3 separate regions of the Homo sapiens genome follow, and all the other regions are linked to region 1. The links are contacts of gene promoters, found by promoter capture Hi-C in human tissues and cell types (Jung and others, 2019). All regions are on one chromosome and are shown on one strand. The core of a region is centred on a gene start or on the middle of the fragment in contact, and the rest is flanking DNA. Distances in the headings are between cores, read along the strand shown. Region 1 holds the start of BMP7 (bone morphogenetic protein 7). Region 2 overlaps LOC105372687 (a long non-coding RNA gene). Region 3 overlaps BMP7 (bone morphogenetic protein 7).

Region 1 (4,653 bases), core at 733-3,232:
GCTCTTGCTTTGCTTCCCTGGCCTGGAGGCCGGCTCCTTGATGGAGTCTGCCATGTGGGTTCGCTCATGGCCATGTCTTCCTGCCCAGCATGGTGCTTGGCCCTGGGACTGGCCACATAATATCTGGGCCAGGTGCAAAATTAGTACGGGGCAGGGGGTACTTTGTTCATAGGTGATTCAGAACCACATATGGTGACCTCAGAGTAGGAAACCAAGTGTGGGGCCCTTAAGAGCTGGGGGGCCCTGTACGACTGTCCAGGTTGCAGGCCCCACAGCTCGCCTCCTGATATCCTGTGCTCCATGCTTGTCTGTTGAAGGAAGGAGTGAATGGATGAAGAGCAGGTGGTGGGGGTGGTTTGAGGGCCTTGCCTGGTGGGTGGGTAGAGGCCCCTCCCTGGCATGGGGCTCAAGACCTGTTCCATCCCACAGCCTGGGGCCTGTGTGTAAATGGCCAGGACCTGCAGGCTGGCATTTTTCTGCTCCTTGCCTGGCCTCTGGCCTCCCCTTTCTCCACCCATGTGGCCCCTCAGGCTGCCATCTAGTCCAAAAGTCCCCAAGGGAGACCCAGAGGGCCACTTGGCCAAACTACTTCTGCTCCAGAAAACTGTAGAAGACCATAATTCTCTTCCCCAGCTCTCCTGCTCCAGGAAGGACAGCCCCAAAGTGAGGCTTAGCCAGAGCCCCTCCCAGACAAGCGCCCCCGCTTCCCCAACCTCAGCCCTTCCCAGTTCATCCCAAAGGCCCTCTGGGGACCCACTCTCTCACCCAGCCCCAGGAGGGGAAGGAGACAGGATGAACTTTTACCCCGCTGCCCTCACTGCCACTCTGGGTGCAGTAATTCCCTTGAGATCCCACACCGGCAGAGGGACCGGTGGGTTCTGAGTGGTCTGGGGACTCCCTGTGACAGCGTGCATGGCTCGGTATTGATTGAGGGATGAATGGATGAGGAGAGACAGGAGAGGAGGCCGATGGGGAGGTCTCAGGCACAGACCCTTGGAGGGGAAGAGGATGTGAAGACCAGCGGCTGGCTCCCCAGGCACTGCCACGAGGAGGGCTGATGGGAAGCCCTAGTGGTGGGGCTGGGGTGTCTGGTCTCAGGCTGAGGGGTGGCTGGAAAGATACAGGGCCCCGAAGAGGAGGAGGTGGGAAGAACCCCCCCAGCTCACACGCAGTTCACTTATTCACTCAACAAATCGTGACTGCGCAGCTACAGTGGCTACCAGGCGCTGGGTTCAAGGCACTGCGGGTACCAGAGGTGCGGAGAAGATCGCTGATCCGGGCCCCAGTGCTCTGGGTGTCTAGCGGGGGTAAGAAGGCAATAAAGAAGGCACGGAGTAACTCAAACAGCAATTCCAGACAGCAAGAGAAACTACAGGAAAGAAAACAAACGTGCGAGGGGCGAGGCGAGGAAACAACCTCAGCTTGGCAGGTCTTGGAGGTCTCTGGGAGGAGAAAGCAGCGTCTGATGGGGGCGGGAGGTGGTGAGTGGGGAGAGGTCCAGGCGGAGGGAATGGCGAGCGCAGAGACAGGCTGGCAACGGCTTCAGGGAGGCGCGGAGGGGTCAGCGTGGCTGGCTTAAAAGGATACAGGGACTGAGGGGCAAGACCGGCTCAAGGGTCACCGCTTCCAGGAAGCCTTCTATTTCCGCGCCACCTCCGCGCTCCCCCAACTTTTCCCACCGCGGTCCGCAGCCCACCCGTCCTGCTCGGGCCGCCTTCCTGGTCCGGACCGCGAGTGCCGAGAGGGCAGGGCCGGCTCCGATTCCTCCAGCCGCATCCCCGCGACGTCCCGCCAGGCTCTAGGCACCCCGTGGGCACTCAGTAAACATTTGTCGAGCGCTCTAGAGGGAATGAATGAACCCACTGGGCACAGCTGGGGGGAGGGCGGGGCCGAGGGCAGGTGGGAGGCCGCCGGCGCGGGAGGGGCCCCTCGAAGCCCGTCCTCCTCCTCCTCCTCCTCCGCCCAGGCCCCAGCGCGTACCACTCTGGCGCTCCCGAGGCGGCCTCTTGTGCGATCCAGGGCGCACAAGGCTGGGAGAGCGCCCCGGGGCCCCTGCTATCCGCGCCGGAGGTTGGAAGAGGGTGGGTTGCCGCCGCCCGAGGGCGAGAGCGCCAGAGGAGCGGGAAGAAGGAGCGCTCGCCCGCCCGCCTGCCTCCTCGCTGCCTCCCCGGCGTTGGCTCTCTGGACTCCTAGGCTTGCTGGCTGCTCCTCCCACCCGCGCCCGCCTCCTCACTCGCCTTTTCGTTCGCCGGGGCTGCTTTCCAAGCCCTGCGGTGCGCCCGGGCGAGTGCGGGGCGAGGGGCCCGGGGCCAGCACCGAGCAGGGGGCGGGGGTCCGGGCAGAGCGCGGCCGGCCGGGGAGGGGCCATGTCTGGCGCGGGCGCAGCGGGGCCCGTCTGCAGCAAGTGACCGAGCGGCGCGGACGGCCGCCTGCCCCCTCTGCCACCTGGGGCGGTGCGGGCCCGGAGCCCGGAGCCCGGGTAGCGCGTAGAGCCGGCGCGATGCACGTGCGCTCACTGCGAGCTGCGGCGCCGCACAGCTTCGTGGCGCTCTGGGCACCCCTGTTCCTGCTGCGCTCCGCCCTGGCCGACTTCAGCCTGGACAACGAGGTGCACTCGAGCTTCATCCACCGGCGCCTCCGCAGCCAGGAGCGGCGGGAGATGCAGCGCGAGATCCTCTCCATTTTGGGCTTGCCCCACCGCCCGCGCCCGCACCTCCAGGGCAAGCACAACTCGGCACCCATGTTCATGCTGGACCTGTACAACGCCATGGCGGTGGAGGAGGGCGGCGGGCCCGGCGGCCAGGGCTTCTCCTACCCCTACAAGGCCGTCTTCAGTACCCAGGGCCCCCCTCTGGCCAGCCTGCAAGATAGCCATTTCCTCACCGACGCCGACATGGTCATGAGCTTCGTCAACCTCGGTGAGTAAGGGCAGGCGAGGGTACGCGTCTCCTTTCGGGGGCACTTTGAGACTGGGAGGGAGGGAGCCGCTTCTTCTATGCAGCCCGCCCAGCTTTCCGCTCCTGGCTGAAATCGCAGTGCCTGCCCGAGGGTCTCCCACCCACAGCCCTATGACTCCCAAGCTGTGTGCGCCCCCAGGTCGGGCGCGCTGGGTTCGGTGAGCCTGTAGGGGTTACTGGGAAGGAGGGATCCTCCGAAGTCCCCTCCATGTTACGCCGCCGGCCGCATCTCTGGGGCTGGAGGCAAGGGCCGTTCAAAGCGCGGGGCTCGGTCATGTGAGCTGTCCCGGGCCGGCGCGGCTCGCGCTACCTGGATGTAAAGGGCCCTTCCCGGCGAGGCTGCCTTGCCGCCCTTCCTGGGCCCCTCTCAGCCCTGCCTGGCTCTGGCATCGCGGCCGTCGCACCCCCTTACCCTCCCTGTCAAGCCCTACCTGTCCCCTCGTGGTGCGCCCGCCTTAGCGTACCGCGCGCTCCGAGCGCCTTGGGGCCCCTCTCCGGGCCGCCGGATGCCCCATTCTCTCTTGGCTGGAGCTGGGGAAGAAACGGTGCCATTGCTAATTTTCTTTGTTTTCTTTCTTTGTTTATTTTTTTCTTTTTTCTTTTTTTTTCTTTTCTTTTCTTTTTTTTTTTTTTTGAGACGGAGTTTCACTCTTGTCGCCCAGTCTGGAGTGCAATGGCGCGATCTCTGCTCACCGCAACCTCTGCCTCCCGGGTTCAAGCGATTCTCGTGCCTCAGCCTCCCGAGTAGCTGGGATTACAGGCATGCGCCACCATGCCTGGCTAATTTTGTATTTTTAGTAGAGACAGGGTTTCTCCATGTTAGGCAGGCTGGTCTCGAACTCCCGATCTCAGGTGATCCTCCCGCCTCAGCCTCCCAAAGTGGTGCTGGGATTACAGGCGTGAGCCACTGTGCCCTGCCGCTAGTCTTCTATTTTAAGTATTTAGTGGTAGGTCCCGGGCCGGCAGAATCTATTTTCAGCATTTACCACGTGTGGCGCGCAAACCACAGGTTTTGGCGATTGGGTTGCGCGGGATCTCAGAGCTGACGCCGCGGGGGCGGCTGGGGGTCCCGGTTTCCGACTGGAGCCGCGACGACCCCGGCGACGCGAGCCTGGGGCTGCAGCGAGGGCCGGGGAGCTCCCCCTCCATATGTGCGCGCACATTCTCCAGACTTGCTCAAACTAACCCCCCGGCAGCGCCAGCGCGCTGCGGGACTGATGATCAAATATTTGGTTTCCGAGATAACACACCCCGATAGCGCTGTTTCCTGAGCCGCTTTCATTCTACTTGTGTAACTTGCTGCGAAAACCCGAACCAAGTCAAGACAGCAAACTCACGCCCACGGGCGCTGTGTCAACATGGAAATAATGATACTGAAGCCCCACGCTGGGCACCTGGGGCGTGGACTGGGGGCGCGGGGGAAGCGCAGATCCGCCTTCATGCTTCCCCCTCCTGATAAGGTCCCTGGAGTTCCCGGGAGGCCATTGTCTGTACTTAATAATAACTAAATCCAACTAGTGAACCAAGCTTCAGCGAGCAAGGGGTGGGAGGTTTAGATGCCAAAATACCTTCAAAAAAGTTTAAATTATACTAAGCAGCCAGTTAAGAAGGAAGCAGCAACATATGACCTGATTTAGAACCATCTCCAAGATGTATGAGGTGGAAAGAAGCAAGGTGCAGATGAGTGGGCTGCATG
Region 2 (4,336 bases), core at 1,189-3,688, 37 kb before region 1:
AGTCTCCCTCAAGAGAGAAGACAGGCTCTACAGAGAAGAAGAGGGGGAAGAATGTAAGGGGAGAGGAGGAGGAGAGGAAGAAGAAAGAGTAGCAGGTGTTGGGGAGTGAATTTGGGCAGCTGTGATGATTTGCCCCAGGCCCCCCAAAGGAGCCTGACTTGTTGGGCAGGAGGGCCAGCTCACAGCCATCTGCAGAACACCAAGGGCAAATCTGGGAGGTGTGGCTACTGGAGCAACTTCAAAAGCAACTATGTGTGTTTTGCCTTTGGGTATGAGTGAGACTCTAGGTTGCAAGTGACAGAAAACCTAATCAAACCAGCCCAACAGAAAAATAAACATTAGCTCATGTAACTGAAATGTGCAGAGTAGATGGCTTCATTCAGGCAAGGCTGTGTCCAGGTGTTCAAATAGTGCCTTTCTCTGTGTTGTCTCCTTTTCAGGCAGGCACTTTCCCAGAAAGATGGTGGTCTGGAGCTCCAGGTATGTCCAAAGCTCCTAATAACCCCAGCAGAGAGAGTTGCCTCTCAAAAGACTTCCAAAAGGAATTCTGGGACTGAGTGGTATTGACTCTGATGAACTTGGCCTGGGTCAGGTGTCCATCCTTGAGCCATCTTTGACCCAGGCTTGTCCATCCCTGCTCGTGGGGGTGGGAGGATGCAATACTCTCTGCCCAGTTCACCCGTGGACAGAGCCAGGCTCAGCCCCACCGGACTATGTGGAGAGAGTTGCAGGGTTGGGTGGGGGTCTCTGTATTAGCCTACTTCGGCTGCTGTAGCAAAATACCGTAAACTGGGTGGCTTAAACAACAGAAATATATATTTTCACCATTCTGGAGGCTGGAAGTCCAAGGTCCAGGTGTCAAGATGGTCAGGTTCTGGCGCAGGCCCTCTTCCTGGCTTACAGATGGCCGCCTTCTCACTGTGGCTCACACAGCCTTTCCTCGGTGTGCACGGAGGTAGGGCATCAACGAGCAAACGCTCTGGTCGGTGTCCCTGCTAAGAAGGGCACCACTCCCATCACATCAGACCAGGGCCTCCTGACATCTAACCCTGGTCATCCCCCAAAAGCTTCATCTCCAAATCCCATCACACTGGGGGTACAAGCATTCAGTTTATAGTCTCTGAGGAAAAGTCCTAGAAGAAAGAAAAGATTAACATTCTGAGAAGAGAAGACAAAACCATCAAATGTCCTGTACAAAGATCTTTCTTAGAAATCTCTCATAGTGTTCACCTTCTCCCTTTCTGTTGTCACGGCAGTGGCCCGAGGAGCTCTGGCTGTCACCCCTTCAACAGCTGCCTCGCTTGCAGCCCCGTGGCAACCTGTGGGCAGAACGCTCTTCTTAAGAGGCTATTCAGGTGTGGTTCCCCCCTTTTAGCAATGTTTTCTTCCGGGGTTATAGGGTAACGCATGACATATTGGAAAATATAGAGGAAAAAATTGCCCACAATCTCACACTCAGAGGAAGCCATATTTCCTTCTAGCGCTTTTAAATGCACTATAGATATTTTTATACAATTGAGGTCATTGTACTCATAGAATTGTATGTGTTGCTGCTTCACTTAAGTAGTGTAAACTTTTCCCTGCATCATTAAAATACCTTTGTAAAGACCCAAAACCATGGTGGCCAAGGGCATGAGGCTGTGAGTCTTGTGCCCCACACCATAGCCAGGAGATCTGGTCACAGGGATCAGCAGCTGTACCAGGACCATGGTGGGAAAGCATACTGGGAAAAAGCAGTTCCCCTGATGAAGAGAGTGGGTCTGTTTTACAGACAAAAGAATACATGTTGGTACTTAACCTTCTTCCCGCAGGCCTACCTCCATATCCAGCTTCCTGCCTGGCCAGAAGACACAGTGCTCTCTCAGCCTCTCCCACTGTGTCCCCGGCTGCCCCATCCCTGTATTTCTCCAAAGCTGGGGTCATTGTGACGCCCTGTGTTTCCTGGCTGGGAGCAATCTCACACCTTCTCCTCTGTCCCTATAGGCATCATGTATGGTGAGGACTGCCTGTCTCAGGGTTATCTAGGCCCAGTCTTCCCCCAGGGCTGTTCCTTACGCAGTGGTTACTTAATAAGAATCTTTGGGGGTGGGCACTGCTCTGGGCTGGGGATGCCATGGACAGCCAACAGGCATGGTCCTGCTCTCCTGAAGTTACAGTCTCGAGAATCAGCCTGTATTAGTCTGTTCTTATGCTGCTAATAAAAACATACACAAGACTGGGTAATTTTTTTTTTTGAGATGGGGTTTTACTCTTGTTGCCTAGGCTGGAGTGCAATGCGTGATCTCGGCTCACTGCAACCTCCACCTCCTGGGTTCGAGTGATTCTCCTGACTCAGCCTCCAGAGTAGCTGGGATTATAGGCATGCGCCACCACACCCGGGTAATTTTGTATTTTTAGTAGAGATGGGGTTTCACCATGTTGGTCAGGCTTGAACTCCTGACCACAGGTGATCCACCCACCTCAGCCTCCTAAAGTGCTGGGATTACAGGCGTGAGACATCACGCCTGGCCGAGACTGGGTAATTTATAAAGAAAAGAGGTTTAATTGACCCTCAGTTCAGCATGTCTGGGAAGGCCTCAGGAAACTGACAATCATGGCGGAAGGGGAAGCAAACACATACTTCTTCACATGGCAGCAGCAAGGAGAAGTGCTGAGCAAAAGTGGGGAAAGCCCCTTACAAAGCCATCAGCTCTTGTGAGAACTCGCTCACTATCATGAGAAGAGCATGAGGGTAACCACCCCACAATTCAATTACCTCCCACCAGGTCCCTCCCGTGACACATGGGGATTATGGGAACTATTAATTATCTTAATACAATTCAACATGAGATTTGGGTGGGGACACAGCCAAACCATATCACAACCACACAAATAACAATGTGACCAGTGCCCTAAACCTCGAGGGCATCCCTTGAGGAATTCCCCCTTGGGGAATCAGGGATGGCTCCATGGAGGAGGTGATGTCTGAGCTGAAGTCTGACAGATGAGAAGTTACCTGGTCTGAGTGGCAGAGAAGAGAGTTCCAGGCAAAAGGTACTGCAGGTGCAGATGTTCCAAGGAAGGATGGTGACCTCAGAAGTGGGTGAGGCTGGACAGCAGAGAGGTATCGGGAACAGGACAGGAAATGGGGAGAGGAGACTGGAGAGGACCGTGGAGCGGTGCAAGTAGCACCTGCAGGACTGGTGCGGGTGTTGGTCCTTGTCTAAGAGCAATCGTGAGGTGGGGGTTGAAATGATCAGTATGCCTCAGGCATCAATAGTGGATGGCAGTGGATCAGAGCTTAGGAAATAGAAGCTACTCTAGGTACTCCAAGTTTGTGGGGTTTAATCGAGGAATTGGGGGCTTTTGCAGGAGCAAAGGTAGTGAAGGATGGAGATGTTGCCAGGAAAGATCATGGCCTGCTTCACAGAGGGCTCAAGAAGAAGCTCTGGGTGTGTGGTTGTCAGGAGATCACTGGGAAGCCCCTGGGAATCCTCAGGTCTCCTGTGGGCCTGGCTGCAGCTGCCTCGGAGATCAGCAGCTCCTTCTTTTCTTCCACTGTCCAGGTTTCTCACAAGAACCTCTCCTTGCAAAAACTAACCTGAAGCCCCTGAAAGAAGGATCCTTGGAAACACAGATCTTGCCCCTGCAAAGCCACTTTAGCTGGACATGGATGCAAAGAGAGCCCCAGACATTCTGCGCGCATGGTGTGTGGTTCACAGTAGGTGGTTTGGAATCTGACGATTTGGGTTCACGTCTTGCTACTACCACTTTTGAGATATGGGACTTAAAGCACGTTATTTATTGTATGGGTCTCAGTTTCCTCTTCTGTACCATCCGCCATGGGTTGGTTAAGAAGCTGAAATGGGCCGGGTGCGGTGGCTCATGCCTGTAATCCCAGCACTTTGGGTGGCTGAGGGAGGCGGATCACCTGATCAGGACTTTGAGACCCGCTTTGCCAACATGGTGAAACCTCATCTCTACTAAATATACAAAATTTAGCCTGGCATGGTGGCAGGCGCCTGTAATCCCAGCTACTCGGGGAGGCTGAGGCAGGAGAATCGCTTGAACCTGGGAGGTGGAGGTTGCACTGAGCTGAGATTGTGCCATTGCACTCCAGCCTGGGAGGCAGAGCAAGATTCCATCTAAAAAAAAAAAAGGCCAGGCACGGTGGCTCACACCTGTAATCCCAGCACTTTGGGAGGCCGAGGAGGGCGGATCATGAGGTCAGGAGATCGAGACCATCCTGGCTAACATGGTGAAACCCCATCTCTACTAAAAATACAAAAAAGTAGCCGGGCTTGCTGGTGGGTGCCTGTAGTCCCAGCTACTCAGGAGGCTGAGGGAGGAGAATGGC
Region 3 (4,267 bases), core at 344-2,843, 50 kb after region 1:
AGTGCAAAATGAAAATGTGTCAAAAATGTATAAAGGATTTCAAGACAGCAACAGCAGAGCATGAAACCAAGCTCGGCGTACTTCTGTGTGTCGGGCCCTGTGTGACTGCACGGGTCAGATGCCCATGAAGCCGGCCCTGGCCTTGCCATCTCCCTGGATACAGATGTCTGTTGATATCTGTGTTGATAGGTATCTTTATACAGATACCTTTCAGCCCCAGCCTCATTTCCAGCTGTCTCCTGTACACGTAAACACGTGGAAACACAGACAGATCCACAGAAACACAGACACAGACACAGCACACAGATGCGCAGACACGCCTGGTTTCCCCTGTTTTAACACCTAACATCAATAGGGTACAGTTTTCATAATTAAGGACCCAGCATCTGCATTTTTATTAATGAAAGTCAATCATTTATTCCGGACCCCTTTGCTTTTACTTCTTGTCCTTCTGTCCTGTCCAGGACGCCACCTACCCTTCAGTGGCCACATTCCCTGGGGCTCCTCCTGCCTATGTGTTTCTCCTGCTTTGCTTGTTTCTGAAAGTGACAGTCACCCAGCGTTTGGAGGGAGTTGATGCAGAGTCCTCTCCCACTATCGCTCCGTCTATCTCAGCCCCACCTATTTTAAAATTCAACCTGAATCCCTACACTCTGGCTGTGGCTCGATGTCTTCTGAACTTGAGTGACGTGGGTCACAGCCACACGGGGTCCCCAGACTGGAGTCCTTGTAACCCCTGGGCTTTCAGCTATGGCGACCTCAGTGCCTGGCACAGAGCACTCCATGTGGCTTTGCTTCTTGAGTGGAAATGAGATTATAAGAGCCTTTTTGGGGTAAGGGTTCTTTGTCTCCTAACTCTTCCCCAGGGCCTAGTTAGGGGCGCTTTAAAGATGGCACTTGAGGTGTCCTCAATAGCAGGCTCTTTCCCCTCCATGCTGTGGGCTTAGGGAGCGGGCTCAGCCTCTTGCTCTGGGGTTGAACCCACAGGTCCCGGAAGTGGGAGAGGGTGGGTGGGGTGGTTTGGGAGTCAGGTTTGCAAGTGGGATTGAGAGCTGGAACCAGGAGCCTCCCAACAAACCTGTCATGGTCATTCTCCTTGGAAAGCTTTCTCCAGCTGAGTCCTGCCTCCATCCCTTTCCCCTTGGGTGTTCCACATGCGGGGGCTCACGGTGCAGTAGGAAAAGCATCTCTGAGGCCCTAGTCTGGCTCCTGGACATAAGAGGGATCCTCCAGCTTCCCCAGCATCACTGGTGTTTGAGTCTTTTCTCTGCAGATGCCACCACAGGTTGTCCTGGCGGGGGTCCCTGCCATGAATGTAGACAGCATTTCTCCTCCAGCCCATGTCTGGCTGCTCAGGTGGTGACTCCCACCATGTCAGCCTCACCAACTGCCACCTTGGACAGGGCCTCCACTCCTCCTCGGAGAGATGGACCCGCTGAGCCGCAGACCTCGAGGCTTCCCCTCCCCACACACCTTCCCCTATGTGGGAGCTCTGCGGGGAACTTTCTCTGACCCACTGAGGAGTCGGAGTCAAGGTCTATGGAGAATTCCCCAGCCCCCTCACCCTCAGGAGACAGTCCCTCACCCTCAGGAGACAGCCCCTCGCCCTCAAGAGACAGCCCCTCACCCTCAGGAGACAGCCCCTCGCCCTCAGGAGACAGCCCCCTCGCCCTCAGGAGACAGCCCCCTCGCCCTCAGGAGACAGCGCCCTCGTCCTCAGGTGCACCCCTCTGGAGCTGCTCCAGGAGGTTCTGACGGGCTGAAGTCCCAGGCCCACAGTGTTCTGTTTTGACAATCTCCAAGCTTGCCTTACTTCCCCGCCCTCTCCAGGTGGTTCCTGGGGTCACCTCTCAGACAAACTACTTGCATTCAAGTCCTTGACTCAGGACCTGCCTCTGGGGTCACTGAAGCATGACAGAGGCCAAGTGTCAACCACACAGGGCAGCCGGGAGGGCTTCCTGGCAAGGGGCAGCTTTGGCACCGGCACAGCTTCTGGGACCTGGTGAGGGCCTACCAAGTGCAAGCTGATGTCCTCAGCCTGCCCCCTTCCTGGACCCCCCCGGCTTCAGGATGCTACCGTGAGAATAAGTCTTAGAACAGCCCGCTCTGGCCTTCTCTAGATGTTCCAACCCAGCCTCTGTTTTTGAGAATCTTGAATTTGGAAATTGCGTCACTTGTTTCTGTCTGCAAAGCACTGTCAAGTTTCTTTCCCCTTGTCGCCCTGCTTTGCTGCACTTTTTCTGTCTCTGGGTTTGGAATCTTAAAACAGCCTGTGGTTCTCTTAAAAAAAAAAAAAAATGAGGTTGGAAAGATGACCCAGCCCGAAGACTGTATTTGTGGTGCTTGTTTATTCCTTGAGTGTGCTTCAGGAAAGGGGCTGAATTTACCTCATTCTATTTTGGTCTGGACCTGGAGGCTGGAGGAAATGCGGTCCCCAGGAGAAGTCTAGAAAGATGAGTCTCCCCATCCTCCATGGCTGCCCGCCCACCTCCACAGTGCCAGATGCAGGCAGCTGCCCATCCGTGTGGGATTTCCCCCAGAGCCGTGTCAGAAGCTCTGCAGTGCCCCCCAGATTTTTCTGGGGGGACCCCCCAGAGTTCTTGATGTTTCACCAGAGTTCTTGGTGTGTTCTGTGAGCTGGAATCCAGCTCGCGGCTCAGTTCCACTGGGTTTCTGGATGGATCATGCCTGGGTTGAATGGAACAGTAGAGCCTCCAGTTTTCCAGAAATTCTGGGGCTCAAACCCTGATATCTTAAGCAAAGAGGGACAAGAGTCAGGTCCAAAAGGAAATGTGAGATGTGCTTTCTTCCCAGCTGTTGCTTTCTGCCCACCTGAGTCCTCTTGATTTTTGCCTGATGTGGGGAAAGGAGGTGGCTCCGAAGAGGTGATGGGGACAGTAAATGGGGGCACTCAACCGGAAGCCCATGCAGCCTGGCAGTTTCCAGTGAGGGGTCAATTTGAGGTAATTTGACAGCCCCCTGGTTCCATAGCCAGGCCTGTGAAGGTGGGGGGTATGGAGGTGCCCAGGGGCTGATGAGGGTTTCCCTTCAACTAGGATGTGCAGCTGGGTGCCCATGGCCTGGGAGTGTGGGTGCCCAGTGGGACATAGAGTGGGCTGGGTGGGCTAAGGCCCCAGTGAACTGTGAGTCAGAGCCATTTCTGGAGCTACCTGAATAATCTGAAAAAGTATTTACCATTTCTCTTTTAATAATGTAAACTATTGGAAGTGAAACCAGAAAACCTTACTGGCCATAAGGATGCAGAGGATACCAGCACATTTGTCCAGCGTGCATCTGAGGCCTGCTTTGTGCTAAGCTGTGTGCCTGGTGGAGAGGCCGCTCCAGGGCTGAATAAAATAGGGCTGGTTCTTGCTGACAAAAAGCTTAAAACCTGGCAGGAAAAGAGGAGAACCCAAAAAACTATACAAACAAACTGAAACTCCAGCCCAGATGGCGCAGGGGAGAGGACTTGGGCTTGGAGCGTGTCCGACGTGGATGCACCATTAGGGCATCAGTGGACGCTTCCCTGGGATGCTCAAGAACAGGCAGGTGTGAGGGAGGTGAAAAGGCAGGGAACAGTGTTGCAGGCAGCGGAAACAGCATGTGTGAGGGGCTGTGGTGGGCTGGAGACTGGCACAGATGAGGAGGGCTGGGTGGGAGGAGGCTGTGGAGACAGGGGCCGGACCATCCAGGGCCTTACAGGTTGGATGACCTGGAGTTGACAATAATGCCTCCTCTCTCTCCCCAGTTTCTCGGTTTGGACTGTCAGTTCCATAGTCTTCTTTATCACAGAACACATTAGAGAGCTTTGGCTTTTTATCCTAAGAGCTGATAAAGGGTTTGAGGCAGGGAAGTTAATTGCTCAGCCCCTGCAAGCTGCTGGGGCAGGGGGAGTGCGGGGTGAGAAGAGTGGAAGGGGAACCCCCGGGTTCTCTGGGTGGTAGCTCTCCCTCCACCATCAAACCATCACCGTGCAGGGGTGACACTTTGCTGGAACAAGGCTCTGGGGTGGTTCCATTCACTACCTGCATATCTCTGAGCCTCAGTCTCCCACCTGTGAGAGGGGACAACAGTGCTCGCCTCTCAGGTACCATACGGTTCAGAGGGCTCGCTCCGCACCTTGTTCTAAGATGGTTCCATCTTGAGTTGGGGTCAGCTCACTGCAGCTGTGATCTTACTTTAGAGCCAAGGCAGCTTGAATCCCATGGTGGAAGATTCACACTGACATTGAGGTTTGCTCCAACCAGCTGCGAACCTTGAGTCTCTG

What was found. The method cuts DNA at HindIII sites, captures the fragments that hold promoters and counts their contacts. A contact is called where the count stands out against the background at its distance.
Region 2: a fragment that was not itself captured here is called in contact with the fragment with the promoter of BMP7 in region 1 in 1 of the 25 tissues and cell types used here (adrenal gland).
Region 3: a fragment that was not itself captured here is called in contact with the fragment with the promoter of BMP7 in region 1 in 4 of the 25 tissues and cell types used here (bladder, lymphoblastoid cells, mesendoderm cells and 1 more).

What each region holds. Positions count from the first base shown.
Region 1 is chr20:57,263,970-57,268,622 of GRCh38, reverse strand. It overlaps BMP7 (bone morphogenetic protein 7), which reads left to right and starts at 1,982. Exons shown (of 7, transcript NM_001719.3): 1 at 1,982-2,918. The coding sequence starts at 2,501. LOC112268270 (translation initiation factor IF-2-like) reads right to left here and starts at 2,183. Exons shown (of 2, transcript NR_171651.1): 1 at 1,981-2,183; 2 at 1,336-1,840. RefSeq lists a cis regulatory region at 1,783-1,875, a promoter at 1-2,494 and an enhancer at 3,603-4,318. The HindIII fragment of the contact is 13,311 bases long and covers 1-4,653 here.
Region 2 is chr20:57,301,831-57,306,166 of GRCh38, reverse strand. LOC105372687 (a long non-coding RNA gene) reads left to right here. Exons shown (of 12, transcript XR_007067670.1): 3 at 445-480; 4 at 1,257-1,355; 5 at 1,812-1,995; 6 at 3,546-3,686. Among named protein-coding and RNA genes, the nearest start is that of MIR4325, 18 kb to the left of the region's middle. The HindIII fragment of the contact is 5,243 bases long and covers 1-4,336 here.
Region 3 is chr20:57,213,929-57,218,195 of GRCh38, reverse strand. The region is part of intron 2 of BMP7 (bone morphogenetic protein 7); the gene reads left to right. It overlaps BMP7-AS1 (BMP7 antisense RNA 1), which reads right to left. Exons shown (of 4, transcript NR_110631.1): 1 at 4,120-4,267; 2 at 3,701-3,828; 3 at 3,248-3,391; 4 at 2,330-2,688. Among named protein-coding and RNA genes, the nearest start is that of BMP7-AS1, 2.4 kb to the right of the region's middle. The HindIII fragment of the contact is 5,350 bases long and covers 1-4,267 here.